2 separate regions of the Homo sapiens genome follow, and region 2 is linked to region 1. The links are contacts of gene promoters, found by promoter capture Hi-C in human tissues and cell types (Jung and others, 2019). All regions are on one chromosome and are shown on one strand. The core of a region is centred on a gene start or on the middle of the fragment in contact, and the rest is flanking DNA. Distances in the headings are between cores, read along the strand shown.

Evidence for each region. The method cuts DNA at HindIII sites, captures the fragments that hold promoters and counts their contacts. A contact is called where the count stands out against the background at its distance.
Region 2: a fragment that was not itself captured here is called in contact with the fragment with the promoter of PKIA in region 1 in 1 of the 25 tissues and cell types used here (lymphoblastoid cells).

Annotation. Positions count from the first base shown.
Region 1 is chr8:78,513,138-78,521,068 of GRCh38, reverse strand. It overlaps PKIA (cAMP-dependent protein kinase inhibitor alpha), which reads right to left and starts at 4,729. Exons shown (of 4, transcript NM_006823.4): 1 at 4,601-4,729. All of the region lies in intron 2 of LOC105375911 (a long non-coding RNA gene), which reads left to right. RefSeq lists an enhancer at 4,055-4,164 and a silencer at 4,485-4,784. The HindIII fragment of the contact is 16,159 bases long and covers 1-7,931 here.
Region 2 is chr8:79,081,713-79,089,643 of GRCh38, reverse strand. No RefSeq gene overlaps it. Among named protein-coding and RNA genes, the nearest start is that of MIR12123, 250 kb to the left of the region's middle. The HindIII fragment of the contact is 3,456 bases long and covers 1,992-5,447 here.

The DNA.
Region 1 (7,931 bases), core at 3,480-5,979:
ACGTTCGGAGCTCCCTTTCCATGCCTTTTTTGTGAATCAAGGTTCTTTGAGTCACTATTTTCACTAGCACTTGCTTCCTAGTCATCAGCTGTCTTCATGTCAGTGTTGGTGAAGGGCTCTCATTTCAGGTCTTAAAGTAAGGAGAAAAACAGAAGGAAAACCTCATCTCAAGTACTGGAAATGTAAGGGCTAATAAAGGACACACATATTGTCCAAGGGAGCACAAATAGATGTTCTTTAACTATTCTGTAAAGAGAGCTTTAGTGAATCCACAAACACCTGCATTTGTATGCAAAATTAATATGTGTATGCTTCTGTATGTACTTGGGGAGAAGATGTACAGACTTTACTGAGTTATCAAAAGTTTGAGATGTTAACCTAAAAGTTTAAAAAGCACTGGAAAGATTAATCACAAAACAACTTGAAACTATTCTGATGGCTCTGACTTTATGTTTTTACAATGTTTTCCCTCACTCTGTTACACTTCAAAGAGCGGGTGGTAATATGGAAAAAATCTCTGCCATTCAGGTGACATCTCTGAGCCTCAGTTTTCTTAGTGTAAAATTCACATATAGTATAAACATCAAATGAGATACCAAAGATGAAAGTCCCTAGATGAGTGGCTTGAAACAAGATAAATGCTCATATGCATAAGGTGCCTTCAATGCAATAATACTGAAAGCAGGTACAATGTCTTCATTAAAGATTGGTTTTGCTATGCTCACCATGCTTTTAGTATCCATTTAAGGACATTTAAGCTCATAATACCTTTTGTAGATTATAATGATTTGAATGTACTCTCAGTATATTTATTATTACTATAATGATTTTTAAAAAACCAAATTAGCATTTGCACATATATTGAGAACTTAACTTGGCTGGTAGAGGAGTGTAGGTAGATAGATTTATAACTCTGGAAAATAACTTATTTCTTCACTAAAATCAAATTGCTGAACACCTATAATACATATATGTAGCTAGACACCATAGAGTTGCAGGTAATAAAAACTTATTCCCAGACCCTGCTTTCAAGAGTTTTTTTTAGAAGAGCAGACAAAGCATGTTCACATGAAAGGATAACCCAAAATAGAATGTGCTATGGGAATTTAAACAAGAGAGGGGCACATCTGGTTGGGGAAGGAAGATGGGTATGGGGAAGGCTTCATAAGTGAGTCAGTATCTGAGGTGAACAAGGTTTCGACATGTAAGAGGATGGGCTAACAGAATAAATGAAAACACATAGGCATGCCACCATGGGGTACAAATTGGAAAGAAGATCCACTTGGTTTAGGTTGGGCATGGGGTACTTTAAGGGAATTAGTGACAAATTAGATTAAGAGATATCACAGTGCCTGATACATAGTACTTAATATTACCTTTTAAACACAAATATTGAATCCAAGAATAACATAGAAGAGGACTTATAAAATGAACAGGGTGAAATATTATAGAAATCTGGCAATTAAGAGGTCATTGGCAACTTTCAAAATAGCACTTTTTTCTACCCATTCTCAGTGGAGTCACTGGTTGAATAGAAATGACATTTCTATTTGAGCCTTATTATTGCTATTCTTTTTCCTTTTCCATTTCAACATTTCTGAACTTTTAAAAAAGTTTTTATTTTTTAATTTGAGACAGGGTTTCATTCTGTTGCCCTGGTTGAAGTACAGTGGTGCCATCATGGCTCACTGCAGCCTCAGACTCCTGGGCTCAAGCAATCCTCCTGCCTCAGCCTCAAATCTTAAGGCTATTTCAATTGTAGTTAATGGCAGTAATGCAGCACCAGAAAAAGATATTTTGTTAGAAGAGGGCAACTTTAACTCCTAAATTTTTACTCTCTAAATATCTGGTAACACTGTCTAGCAGACAAAACTTTTTTTTTTTTTTTTACACAATTGGAGAGCAGTAGACTGACTTCAGTTCTATCTTGTCAAACACAAAAGTGCCTGCAGTTCATTTAGTATCTAATCATTTAGCATCTAATCATGCACGTCCTTCCATTTTTCATTCCTCTTTCAATTCTGAACACCAGCCAATTAGTTTTTCCTCTCCCTAGGAAACATTTTAAGGAAAGGATATAAAGTCATAAATCAGTTTCAGACATAAAATCATACATATATTTCTGCTTAGCCTTCTAAATTTAGAAACTTTCCTCAAACTTGTTTAAACACAACAAAGTCCAAATTCAGGAATCCCTTCAGTTTGATTATCTTCCTCAGTTGTACTAAAATGAAAATTAAATTTTCTAACTTGTTTTCTTTCTTCTCAACAAGATTTCTCCAACTCCAGTCCATAACTTAGTGGGTTCAACTCACCTGCAAAATCACTAGCAAGTATTATTCCACCTTAGGCAGCACCAGTCTCCTAATCCTGAACCTATTTCTTGCCAAAGAGTTTAGTTTCTTCAGAAACTAAATGATAGACACTTCGAATTTCTAACCATCATTAGGATATTCTCACGCACTTGCTCTTCAACAGAAAGGTGACTGTCAACATTACAGAAACTGCATTGTATTTCTAAGATCAATTGTACTAATCTGTATTTCATATACCTTAGGTTATTTAGAATAACTATATTAAAATTCATTATTATTCTATATTAGTATTATTCAGAATAATGATGTATATGGTTAAGTATTTTAATAGTAGAAAAAAGGTGGTAGAATACAGGGTTTGTTGTTGATCTTGTTCTTTGTTACCTCATAGTTAATGTGACTGAGTAAAAATTCTAGAATCTCAAGAAGTTAATATTTCAAACCAAAACCCTGTTTAACACATAATAACAACAACAAAAAAGGAACATAAGGTTATTAAGACCCCAAGGGGCAGTTCCTGGAGTGGATCACTCAGTAGTGGGCTTTGCCCACCCCCTACACCCTCACCCTATGCCTCATATACTGAAGATGGAGACAAAGAAACAAATTCAAATCTTTCTAAAGTGCATTTTGTAAAAACGAAATTTGTAATAGAAAGGCAATAATGATATATAATATGATTAACACGATTTTCCATACTAGTGTCTTTGCTTAAAAATAATATTTGAAGAGGAAAGAAAGAGGTAAAATTTTAAGCTACCAACTCTGCCCCTCTTTTTCATTGATCTTCTAATTTAATTTACTAAAATAAAATTGCATGGCTGTTGAGTCAGACAGTCTCTGTAATTTTAAGTTTAAAGATAACAGATCTTCCTTTAAATAGAACATTGGCACACAGATACCCCACAATCTGGCTTATTGCAACTGTTCTCTGTTGGTGAAGTGGCACGTTTGCAATCCCCATAACAGCCATCTTAACCATTTCACAGCATATTATTCAAATGTACATCTCTAGGTGGCAACAAGGATAGGCACTTGGGCTCAGTAGCAAGGGGTCTGTGGGGAAAATCCTAGGACGAGGGATAGGAACCTGCAAATGGCAAGACAAACTAGAGGATACTCAACCAGAGGCTTAGATTGGGCAGCTCCATTGGCTTTCTGACTGCCTACGAGGAAAACCTCACTGGAAACTCTTTTGAGGTTCTTGAGGAATCCTAGAGGCAAACGGACTCCTCTGCCTTTTGGAAAGGATTTGTCCCAAATCTTAACAGCTAGCTGTCTCAAAATCCAACTGGACTAAAATTGCTTCAAGAAAAACTGGATGGACTGGCATTCACATTTTTACTTCTACCTATGCCTATGCATAGGGAACATCCCTCACACTCCAGTAGATTCTATCTGTCCTCTCTAGCTTTCAAGTAGCCACAGTGACTACAGCGAAGGGAGTTAATGGGATAACATGTTGGTACAGGGCCACAAGCAGGATATTTCATTCCATGCATTTGGGGGAAGGACACAGGTAACAGTATACAGGGAGAATACCGAATAAGAAATCTGTGTGAGGCAATGCCCTTTTTGGGACCTTGACAAAATCAGTCATGGAACCCAGGTGGTGGATAAGAGCTGACGAGAGTTGGTCTGTGAATGGGCACAGCATCTCCGAAAAAGATCAATGAAATGATTGACAGAGAAAATGGCAATTGAAGGAAGAAGCGATGTCAAGTGCTGCTCAACCCAAGCTGAACTCCAGGAGATAAGAGAAGTTTCCCCTCCAGATAGAGGCTCTTTCTAAAGGTTCAGTCTTGAAGCAGGTGTTTTGCCATTGAGAGGGGCACAGACCCATTCTGATAACTGGAAAGGGAGAGGACCAAGGACTACAGGAAGAGGGACGATTTCTGATTACCTCAGGCTGCTGCCAGGGACCTACTGCTCCAAATCCTCAAAATACTCAAGCGAAGGTAAAAGGCACAGAAAGCAAAAGAGTAACTCAAATTATTTTAAATTTTGAGTCCTCTTCACTGTCTACGCGAATCTGGCACTGAAATGGTAGATCACGTTCAAAAGAGTATAGAGGCAAGAACGCCTTCTTTGTTTGCCCAGTAACACTGCTCCTCCAACCTCTGCACTTGGCCGCCCAACATTTCCATCCTAGTTGTTGCTCCTTTTCTCATTGCAGAATGCAGCGGGGTTCTCCCCTTCTTCCCTCCGTGCTGCAAACCCCATTATTAACCAAGCGGAAAGCTCCACGCAGTGCGGCCAGGGCGCACCGGTGCCGGGCTGCTTACCTTCCCCGGACCTAGTCAGCGCAGGTCCCCGCGCACGCCGCCACGGGCCGCAGTCCCGCCGCGCCCGCCGAGTGCTCGGTCAGCTCGCGCCGGCCCGCGCCCCACCTGCCAGCAGCAGCCTCCGCTCCCGCCGCGGAGCTCCGGCTGCATGAAGTCATCCCCGCCCCGGGACGGATCACCACATTCCGCGCCAGCCACGGGGGGAGCGGGGCCGCTCCCGACCCCAGGGAAGGCAGCCTGGAAACGGCGCTCGACGATCGCTGCCCCGCGAGGTTGTGGATTGATTTTCTATTAATGCTTTTACAGCTGCAGCATCGCTGGATTATGGATTGAGAGAGAAGAGCCAGGGGGGCTTTCTCTGCATAGCGTCCTTCCTCCGAGCGCTCCCCCGTCACCCCGGCTGCATGGACTGTTCCATTTGCCCCTGTGGGTTTCCCACCCTCTTCATCTTCCTTATCAGCATTGTTCATTTGGCTGAATTTGAGAGCAGGAATTGTCTTTTAAGATAAACATTCAAGCACTACAAAAACATTTTAAATTGGTAATGAAGCTTTCTAAGCCCTTCATAGCTCTCTCCATCACCCCCGCCCCCGCCAACAGACACACACGCAAACACACACACACACGCACACACGCGCGCACACACACGTATGCACACAGCCAAACCACTCACAATTTTGAAAGCTAGAACCTTTCGCCCTCTCACCTACGTAATAGAACGGGAATCTCCTAAAAGACTGGAGAAGTGGGGCCAACCAGAGAAAGCGCTCAAAGAAACAGTGGGGTGGCCCCATGATTTTGTTGTGTTTATGGTGCACTTGTGCACAGATGTTCCCTCTAACATCTCTTCCTCCTACTTCCTTTGCTCTGGACCCCCTCCCCTCCCTGCCACATAATTGGGCAAACTGTTGTGGTGACAGCTGTAACATTTGGGAATCAAAAAGCAGAGTCTACATTAGCAAATGACTATCTCTCTTTCCCTAAGGATTTATGAAAATTTGCTTTGGGAATGAAATAAGCATGTATTCATATAAGCCCTTTCCTTCTCTTTTTAAATTAACACTAGCTGTTAACAAGACTGTTCTCTCTCCCCCACCCTCCCGTTTTGCTTCTTTCCCAAATCTCTTCAGGTTTGAGGGTTGAATGTTTAAGGAAAAATGGGACTAAATTTGCTCTCTTTGTAGCTGAGCCAGGGTTTCCGCCTAGCTGTTGAGTCATTTTCCAGTCGGGAGGTTCCTTGACACTAGGGTTCTGTGGAATGGAGTTCCCTCTTTTAACTTGCCTTGCTGTTTGAATTGACCGTCACTTGATACAGGCCAGCTTTACACTATGGATTTGTCCAGCAACCTAAACAGTGCAATTGCACAAGGCCAGGGAAGCACCTTTGCTAAATGAGATGTTTCCATCCATCTATCAGTCCCAAAGTTAGGTGATAATGTAGCCAACAGCTTTCCAACAAAACTTAGTTAGAATTCTTGGTCATAGAATATATGCTCTTTGAAAGCTAGAACAGCTTAATTCATCGCTCTGAGACTCACTTTCATAACATTAGCCCGTTAATATTACCATAGAGCAGGAGATTCTTAATCTGTATAAATGGAATTCTATTCATATACTCCTTTTATACAGATTAAGTATAATGGGAAAAATCTCATTTTTAGTTTCACTAACTTCTAACTGAAATTTAGCATTTAGCATGTCCTTTAAACATAATGTAGGCAACAAACCACAAGAATGTTAGGAGTACCTGGGACTTTGTTTCCAATAGAAACAACAGCTAATTCCTTATTGCTGTTTTTATAGATATCTCTATCACTACACTGATGTTATAATCAAATCATCACTACTTTTTTTATTTAATAGACTATATTTTTCAGCTTTGGTGTCCAGAAAAATTGAAGAAATAATACAGGGTGTTCCCATATATCCCATTCCCAGTGTCTCCTATTGACATCATACAATAGTAAGGTACCTTGGTGTAATTCTGGCATTGCTATAAAGAACTACCTGAGATTGGGTAATTTATAAAGAAGGGCTGGTGGTTCTGTAGGCTGTACAGGAAGCATGATTGGGGAGGTCTCAGGAAACCTATAATCATGGTGGAAGGCAAAGGGGAAGCAGGCAGGGCCTACATGGCTGGAGCAGGAGAAAGAGAAGGGGGAGGTGCTACACACTTTTAAACAACCAGATGTCATGAGAACTCACTACCACCAGAAAGCCAAGGGGGAAGTCCTCCCCCATGATCAAGTCACCTCCCACTAGGCCCCTCCTCCAAAATTGGGGATTACAATTTGACATGAGATTTGGGTAGGGACACAAATCTGAACCATATCATTGGGTTACAATCAATGAATGTATACTGATACATTATTACTAACTATAAATAAAGTCTAACTACATTTAAGTTTCCCTGGTTTTTACCTAATATCCTTAAATCTGTTCCAGGCATCCATCCAGGATACCACACTAAATTTAGTTGTCATGTCCCCTTAAGCTCCTCTTAGCTGTGATAGTTTTTCTTGTTTTTGATGACCTTGACAGTTTTGAGGAGTAGTGGTCAAGTATTTGCTGGAAGGCCTCACTGTTGCAATTTGTCTGATGCTTTTCTTATGATAAGACTGGAGTTGCGAACTATTGGCAGGAGAAAGAAAGAGGTAAAGTCCCTTTTCCTCACATCATATCAAGGTGCTATAGTACCGATGTGATTTATGACTGGTGATGTGTTGACCTTGATTGTCTGGCTGAGGCAGTGTTTGTCAGGTTTCTCTACTGTAACGTTATTGCCCATCCCTTCCATACTGTACTTGTAGGAAGTAACTACATGAAACCCAAACCTAAGGAGTGGGACTTTGGCTCTACCTCCCTGAGGGCAGAGTGTGTACATAAAGTATATGGAATTCTGTACAGGAGAGCTGTCTATTCTCTACCAAGTATTCAATTACTTATTGATATCAATATTATAGACTTATGGAGATGTATTATATTTTATGCCTTTGGTAATAATCAATTACTACTTTATTTTGTTGTTCAATTTGTTCCAGTTTTGCCCATTGGAAGCTCTTTCAGTAGGTTCCTGTGCTCCTTTGACATACCCCCTTTGATGTGTGAGTGTGCGTGTGTGTGTGTATGGCAGGAGCAGCAGGGCTGTTAACAATCCCTTACTTTATGGTATTATAAGTTCCTCCAGTCTCAACTTGTATACTTCCTTCTTCATTCCAAGAATCAGCCATTTCTTCATGGAGCCCTTGTTCCTTTTATGGGAGAATGGTAATACAAATCAAGATCTGGGTCCCAGACACAGTCATTATTGGCAGGTCATTTTGTTTAGGCC
Region 2 (7,931 bases), core at 2,470-4,969, 570 kb before region 1:
TCATGGCCTCTAATTTTCAAATGAAAAATATTCCAAGAGGTGAAGATCACACAGCTTCATCTATAAGAACAAAAGCCAGGACTAAACCCAAACTTTGTACTTGTTAATACAGTACTTACTGTATAACACCATACTAGCTTCTATATTCATTAAAAACCACAGAAGCTACTGAATATTCATGTTCCACAAGGTTACATGAGCCAATGTGTAGGAGATATGGAGTCAGGCCCTCTATTGTGTTCTCTCTGTTTATCTGTAGCTTAATGATGGCACTTTCCTTCTGTTTTTATCTTTACAATTATGTAAAATGCTCTCCTGAAGTAGATACCACAAGGTCTATGCTCATTTTAGGTCTTTGTGAAGTGGATCATAAATAAAAATGGTAAAGGACTATGTAGCCATGTCATTCTGGACAGCATGATACTGACTAAAATAATCAAATTAAAGGGATCATGTTTTAACTGATAAGGTGTTCTTCAATGTTATAAGTGAATGATAATGAATTATTACTGGGTTTATGACTAAGGTATCCAAAACATCTCTTCGTTGTCTGATTATTTTAGTCAGATGAGCCATATATTAAGCTCATATTTTATTTTATGGACCACTAAATGTTGAGGCATAGTGGAAAGTGTAAAGATAAGAGTCTATTACACTTTAAACATAAATCCTGAGCTGGAGGATGATGCTTTTAGCACAATGTAGTACAGGATTAAAGGTATGGCCTGCATAATGAAATAGTCTTCCCAATCATACCTCCTTCTCCTTATTTTGTGACCTTGGACAAGTCCCTCCCCTTTTCTCTGCCTTGCTTTCTTCATTTGCAAACTTAATATTAGTGAGGCTTAAATATGACAGTGTTTGTGAAGTACATGGTAGTTCCTGGCATAAAGTAAATTTTCAATATATCCTAGCTATAAGCACATGCTAGAATAGTAGCCATTTTTGAGTCTACTGTGCCAAATGTTTTATATTTAAAATTTCTGTATCAGTCAGTGCAGTTGAAATAATGTGGTCTGGAGTCATATACACAAATTCTTCCACTTAATGGCTTTCTGTAACCCCAGACAATTTATGAAACTTGTGTAAACCTGTTTCCCCACCTGGAAGATGTAAATAAAATAATAAACACATATTGAAAGCTTCTTATATGCCAGTTATTTTGCTGATATATTACCTCCATTATCTTATTTAAAACCTACCCTGCACAATTCGGTATTTAAAGAGGTCTTTTATTTAAATCATCTTGTATCATGTCTGACACATTATTATGTGCTAAATGCAATTTAATTTTCTGCCTCTTTCCCCTATCACCTACCACAGAGTGACATTGACTGATTAATCCACATATTTAATCAATGTATGCACAATGAAATGAGTTCACTCTGCTTTGGTGTTACTGTCTAAAGTTTAGTTTCCTCACTTGCAAAACAGGGATTCATTATACCTACTGTGATTCACTACCTGCAACGTCCCTAACAGCATGCCGGACACCTAATAAGGATTCAATCAGTGATTCATTTTATTTTTTTCCTTAAAACCTTGCTCCCAGACTCAACATCAAGAATGAACTTATATGCTAACTCTTTTGTGTAGTAAGGAACCATGTTATGCAGAGACATTTATGAATAGAGATTAATTATATCAGTCTTCAAGAAGACGCAGTACAGAGTTTGCTATCTACTATTCTGTAGCAGTAAGACTTTTTTCAAAAAGCATTGCGCAAACTCTGATTTTATTTAGATGATCCCCTAAGAAACTTATTAGAAAAACAGTCACCCAAACAACTGCTTGTTAACCAGAGTCCTTAATTTATATGTTCTGGGCTATATTGTCTAAAAATGCTTCCTACTTGGAATGAAAAATATATCACATTTGATTTCCTTCCCAGTTCAGATTATAATAGTACCAAATAAGCAATATATTTTTATGTGCAAACTGTTTGGAGGAACAGAAGGAGACTGTGTGTTTCTCTTTTGGCCTTAGGCAAATCTTTCCATTACTCTAAGCAGAAAGTATAATTTTATCATACACGTGAGATGCTTCTAATGACTAGCTATTACTTTCTACCTACAGATTTGTGTGACGAATGAGTGGTATTTCCTTTCAGTTATTTCTATTTTACACGGGAAATATTAGGATAATTTGGACATTTATTATCCTTTTCATGACCTAGATATGCAATATGGTACTTTCATTAGGAAAACATACGGAAAAGAATCGTAATTTTATTTAGTAATTCAGTTAGTTAATTTTTGTGTATGGAGGATCCTCTAGTTGTAAAATAATGTTGAAGATGAAAAGGAAGAAAGGCCAGAGTATTAAGGCATGAACATTCTTAGGCAGAAAAATCTTTCATGGACACACAGTCTGAAAATAATATTTCTAAATATGTGTCCAGGTTATAAGATAAATACCTTTGTCTTTAAGTACCTGTATGGTACTCCCTGGAATATCTGTTTTGTTTCTTCAAATATGATGAAGGAGCATGAGAACTGGCAAGGTTTTGTTTTGTTTTGTTTTGTTTTGTTTTGAGACGGAGTCTCGCTCTATCCCCCAGGCTGGAGTGCAGTGGCGTGATTTCAGCTCACTGCAACTTCCGCCTCCTGGGTTCAAGTGATTCTCCAGCCTCAGCCTCCGGAGTAGCTGGGATTACCAGCGCCCCTCCACACTTCCGGCCACGATCGGCTAATTTTTGCATTTTTAGTAGAGATGGGGTTTCTCCATGTTGGCCAGTATGGTCTCAAACTCCTGACCTCAGGTGATCCATCCGCCTCGGCCTTCCAAAGTGCTGGGAATACAGGCATCAGCCACTGCGCCCAGCCAGAGAACTGGTAAGCTTTTACTGAGAGAATAAAGTTGTGTTAAGCCCTTACTGTGTTTCTTCCTTGGCATTTGTGCACAGAACACTCAGATTGGATTTTGATTTCAGATTATTACCCCTTCTCTATTCTCAGCCCAGGTATTACTGACGAATTTGACTCTTTCCTTCAGAAACTGGCAGAGACTCTGACTGGCTCCTAGTTACATCGTTGGTTCAAGAATGAACATGTGGCTGAACTAGATCCAATTAGATGAAATGAGGACTCTTGCTGAAATTTTTCAAAGAGAAAATCTCATTCTTTCCTATTGGACGTGGAATGTAAGATAATGTAAAAACTAAAGCTGTCACTGCTGTTTGCTACATTTCTCACAGGTAGCCCAATATTGAGATGGGACAATATGGATAAATAGAAACAGTGTCCGAGTTCTTAATTCAGCTGTGCATAGCCCATCCCTTGACTTTTCTGATACATGTGCTAATATACACTTGTGATTTAAGCTCACTTGAATTTCTGTTACCTGCAACCTTGTTGTTTCAAATTGGTCCCTACAAAAAGGCCACACCTCCCTGTTGTGTTCAAAACAGAAGCTTCCAGTGATCTGCTTCTGCCATCCACAGAACAACAACACTTGGGCACAATAGTTATACAAGAATTATAGAGGCTTATTTCCATATTCAATGCAATTCGGTGTGGAATCACACTAATCAAGTTAGAGGTTCAGCAGAATTTCTCTAGTGAGCTTTAGCATTTCAAGTCTAGCCAGCTTTAGATTTGTGATAAAAGAAGAAAAACATAGGCTTCCTCATTCTGCCTCTAGTTCTCTTGCCTCTATTTCTTTTCTCCAAGGTTAGTAATTCACACACATTCCAAGAGCAAATAATAGTTCTCTGAAATAGCATAGTCTTTGTCCATATTAAAAATATATATTTTTTTTTTCTAAAAACATCAACATCCACAAAGGTTTTCCATGCTAAACAGAAAGGCCTTTACCATTAGCAGGCTGACCAACTTAACTCTTCTCTGTCTCCAGCTTTCCTTTACAGACTAGTTATGTGTGTCCATTAGATAAGCCCAAAAGACACATTAAAGAGGTTTTCAAACAAATTTGTTTTGAAAAAATAAATTCTTCTGCCTCACATAAATGAGAAAATAGTTGCAACTTTAAAAATTAAATTAGTAACTCTTGTTTACAATGTAAACTGGCACAGTCATTCTAGAATGAAGTTTGGCAGTATTTGGTGATATAACCGGGTGTGTATGACACTGCAATCCCACTCCTGAGTTAACATCCCAGAGAAACTCTGGCTCAGGACTTTAACTAGGTTCTGCTCTTCCAGGTGTTTCCCCAGGGGATAGAAAGTAGAAGGCAACCTAGGAATCCATCAATAAGGGAGTAAGTAAAATATGGCAGAGTCAGGCACAATGGGATACGATGCGTCAATCACAAAATATGGATATGTCTCAGAAATATTAACGAAAAGAAACAAAACATGATATACCTTTCTATAAATTAAAAAAAAACACAACCATGGAAAATATAGCACATATTTTGAAAAGGTAAATATATTTAGGGATACAGTTGAAACATTTGAAGTGGGTGACTAATAGAATGGGAGAGAAATAATAGTTGGGTTTGGAAAAAAATTAAAAACAGATTATCATCCACTATTAGGTGAAGAGTACAAGTAAATCAACTTTCTGTCACAGAAATGACAGTAATAGCATAAAAATGAGCTCCTTTTGACATTTTGTATTATTTTTTGTCAGATATAGTTTTGTGAGAATTTATTATACCACAGGTAAAACACTCCTATGTAATAGGAATATGAGCTGGCTATGTTTGAGAATTCCCTTAGTTATCATTAAATGAGGAGACATGAACAAATAGCAGAGCAGGAAATACTAATAGGTTTTCTGACATGTACTTTCAGAATCATTTACTGTGATGAATTACTTTGGGGACATAAAGACTTGCTTATACTATTGCCAAGTTAATATTTCGTTAGAAACTGCATATATATGTGTATATAAGTATGAATATAAATAGTTTCACTTTTTAGTCCCTGTTTTTCTGATTTCAAAGATAATATATTTACCTTATGAAAAGTTTAGGAAATGTTGAATAATTCTGAGAAGAAAATTAAAATAACCTATAGGCATCCATCAGAGGATAAACAATTTGAAACATTTTAGTGGATTTACTTTTAGGATTTTCTGTTCTGTATTTGTGTGTGTTGTACATGCACACACATCATGACACTTTCATATACAGTGAAAGAGAAAAAATGCTATAGTTTTATTGTCTTAGTTCAGGCTGCCATTACAAAGTACCATAGAATGATTTATATTCCTTTGGGTATATACCCAGTAATGGGATTGCTGGGAGGAATGGTTATTCTATTATAAACAATGCTTTGACTAACATCATGGAAAGATACAGATCATTTTTTTCTCTTCAGGATCTTTTCCTACAAGTGCATTTGCTGCGTTAAAGGATACATACATGTTGGTGGTTTTAGGAGTGGGTTAAGTCATAAGGGTGGAATCTGAAGATGCCGTATGAAAGGCTTAAATGTTTTTAAGTATTTTTAAGTTTAGAATATTTTAAATTTAACAGCGAATGTAATGGCACTTTTGGCCTGAGAATATTCAGAGACATGTTTCTAAGGATATTTTAAAAATTATTAAAGAATGATTCTAAGCTGAAGCTAAATAGCAAGGACACTACAGCCAGAGCAACCCATATGAATCTGAGCTCCTACATTTGCCAACTGCATAATCTTGGACAAGTCTCTTAGCTTACTTGTGCTTCAGTTTCCTCATCTATAAAATGTAGATAACAATAGTACCTGTCTCATATATTTGTTTTGAGGATTATGTGTGAGTTTGTGTGTGTGCTTGTGTGTTTGTGTATGCATACATGCTTAGGTCAATGGTTGGCATAGTTATAGCTCTAAAAGCAGCAGTTATCAGCAGGCTCAGTGGCTCATGCCTGTAATCCTAGCACTTTGGGAGGCCAAGGTGGGTGGATCACGTGAGGTCAGGAGTTTGAGACCAGCCTGGCCAACAGGGTGAAACCCTGGCTCTACTAAAAGTACAAAAAAATTAGCCAGGCATGGTGGCGGGCGCCTGTAATCCCAGTTACTCAGGAGGCTGAGGCAGGAGAATCGCTTGAACCCAGGAGGCGGAGGTTGAAGTGAGCCAAGATTGCGCCATTGCACTCCATCCTCGGCAATAAGAGCGAAACTCTGTCTCAAAATGACAAAAACGAAAATAAGAGCAGCAGTTGTTCTTATTAAGATAATTAGACTGAATCCCAAAAACAAGAAATGCCCTGCTATAAATTTGACACCTCTATTAATCTATTGCACTGTCTGGTGTTTGTAAAGTCACTCTGGAGGAGGAATAAGTAGAAGAATGTTATTCATCTATATATGGCAAAACAACAACAACAACAACAACAACAACACACACACACGTCATGGAAAATGTGATTACTTTCATCTATCCTACAGAATTGTGCTACCTTTAATAGTACACAGTGCATTCCTCAAAACTCCCTTTTCTAAGAACATCTAATGCCAAAGAGCAATGATAGGACCACAGTTTGTAAGCTCTGCTGCTTTTCTGTATCCTTTAAATCTGGACCCTCCTCTATCATCTAATGAAAACAAACTGTAATTGCAAAGATAAAATTTAGTGACTGGAACCATGCTGAATTGTAGTTATTTTAACAAGCTCTACCTTTTTAATTAAACATCATGCCTCAGAGGATTTAGTTTCAAATATTTGCTTACAATTTTCTCGTTAAAGATTTCAGCTCCAGATGTTTTTTTTTTTTTAATGGTTTATTGTCTGTTGTCTTCATCTTTCTTTTAAAAATCTCAATTCTTAAATGGCTGCTAACATATTAAAGGTCATTTTATTAAAATAATTTTGTTTTGCAGGAATGAGAAAGCACTGACTTAGTATAGTAGTCACACACCTGTTATATGCAATATACTGTTCCAGACATAGTAATGAATTCATGTAAGTCTATATTAGGACCACTGACTTCACATAGCTTACAGATAATGTGATGAGACATGACATATATATGTCATTTACACATATAATATGACATACATATACATTATAGATGTATATGTATAAAATATTCCATGAAATGTTGGGGTATGATATAAAGTAGATTTTACATAGAGTAAGAGTTTTAGGTAGTATTTAAAAGTTAAGAGCAGTGAGAGAAACAGCCTATGCTGTTGGGGCTTGAGATATCAATTATATGACTTTTCCTACTGAGTTTGAGACCAGTTAACAGAGAAACACAGAAGATGGCAAAAGGAGATCAAAACGTCAGCTTTACTACTGATAGATCAACCTGGAAGATGTAGCTTTAAAGCTGCAGGTAAATGAGCTTCTGAATATTCCATGCCTGTTGTACCTACTGCTCACAAACAACGCCATCCTCGGAAAGGCTCAAAGCAATGCTGGTGTAGCCTGCCTTCCATAGAAAATAGGTTGAGGCAAAACTTCTAGCTAAGGCTCTACTGGTAGAGTCAATCTAAGGACAGCAAGAATGAGGAAAACAAGGGAAATGATTCAGGGAAGGAAGGAAAGCCAGTAACGATGGTGGGTGTCTTGCTAACTTGGTCCAAGCTTTGCATGATAATCTAACAAAGATTTTGCATGATGGACACCTTTCTAACAGATTTCCTTAAACCACAGATACTTGGAACAATGAGCTGAGAGCAAGAAAGGAAGGGAATTTTTTTACTGGCTCATTCCTCACTCCCCTCTTTTGCTGAGCAATGTTTGCCCTGTGGGGCACTAAATCCCTCACACTTATGAGTTGTGTTGTCTGGCTTTCTGGAAAGCATTAGAACCTTTCTCAGCTCTATACCAGGGTACTCTCCAGAACATCTAAGCTCTGGCCTTTTCCTGCTTGGGCTGGACAGTGTCTTCGGATGTATCACTTTTAAGACAACCTGAGTTTACAGTGCTGTGAGGGTTCCTCACCTTTGACTGGCTGGGAGATGCTTGAAAGATCACTTCTAAGATGGCCCTCCTAAGCTACCACTGCAGTTAGCTTTGTTCTCTGTGTGCATC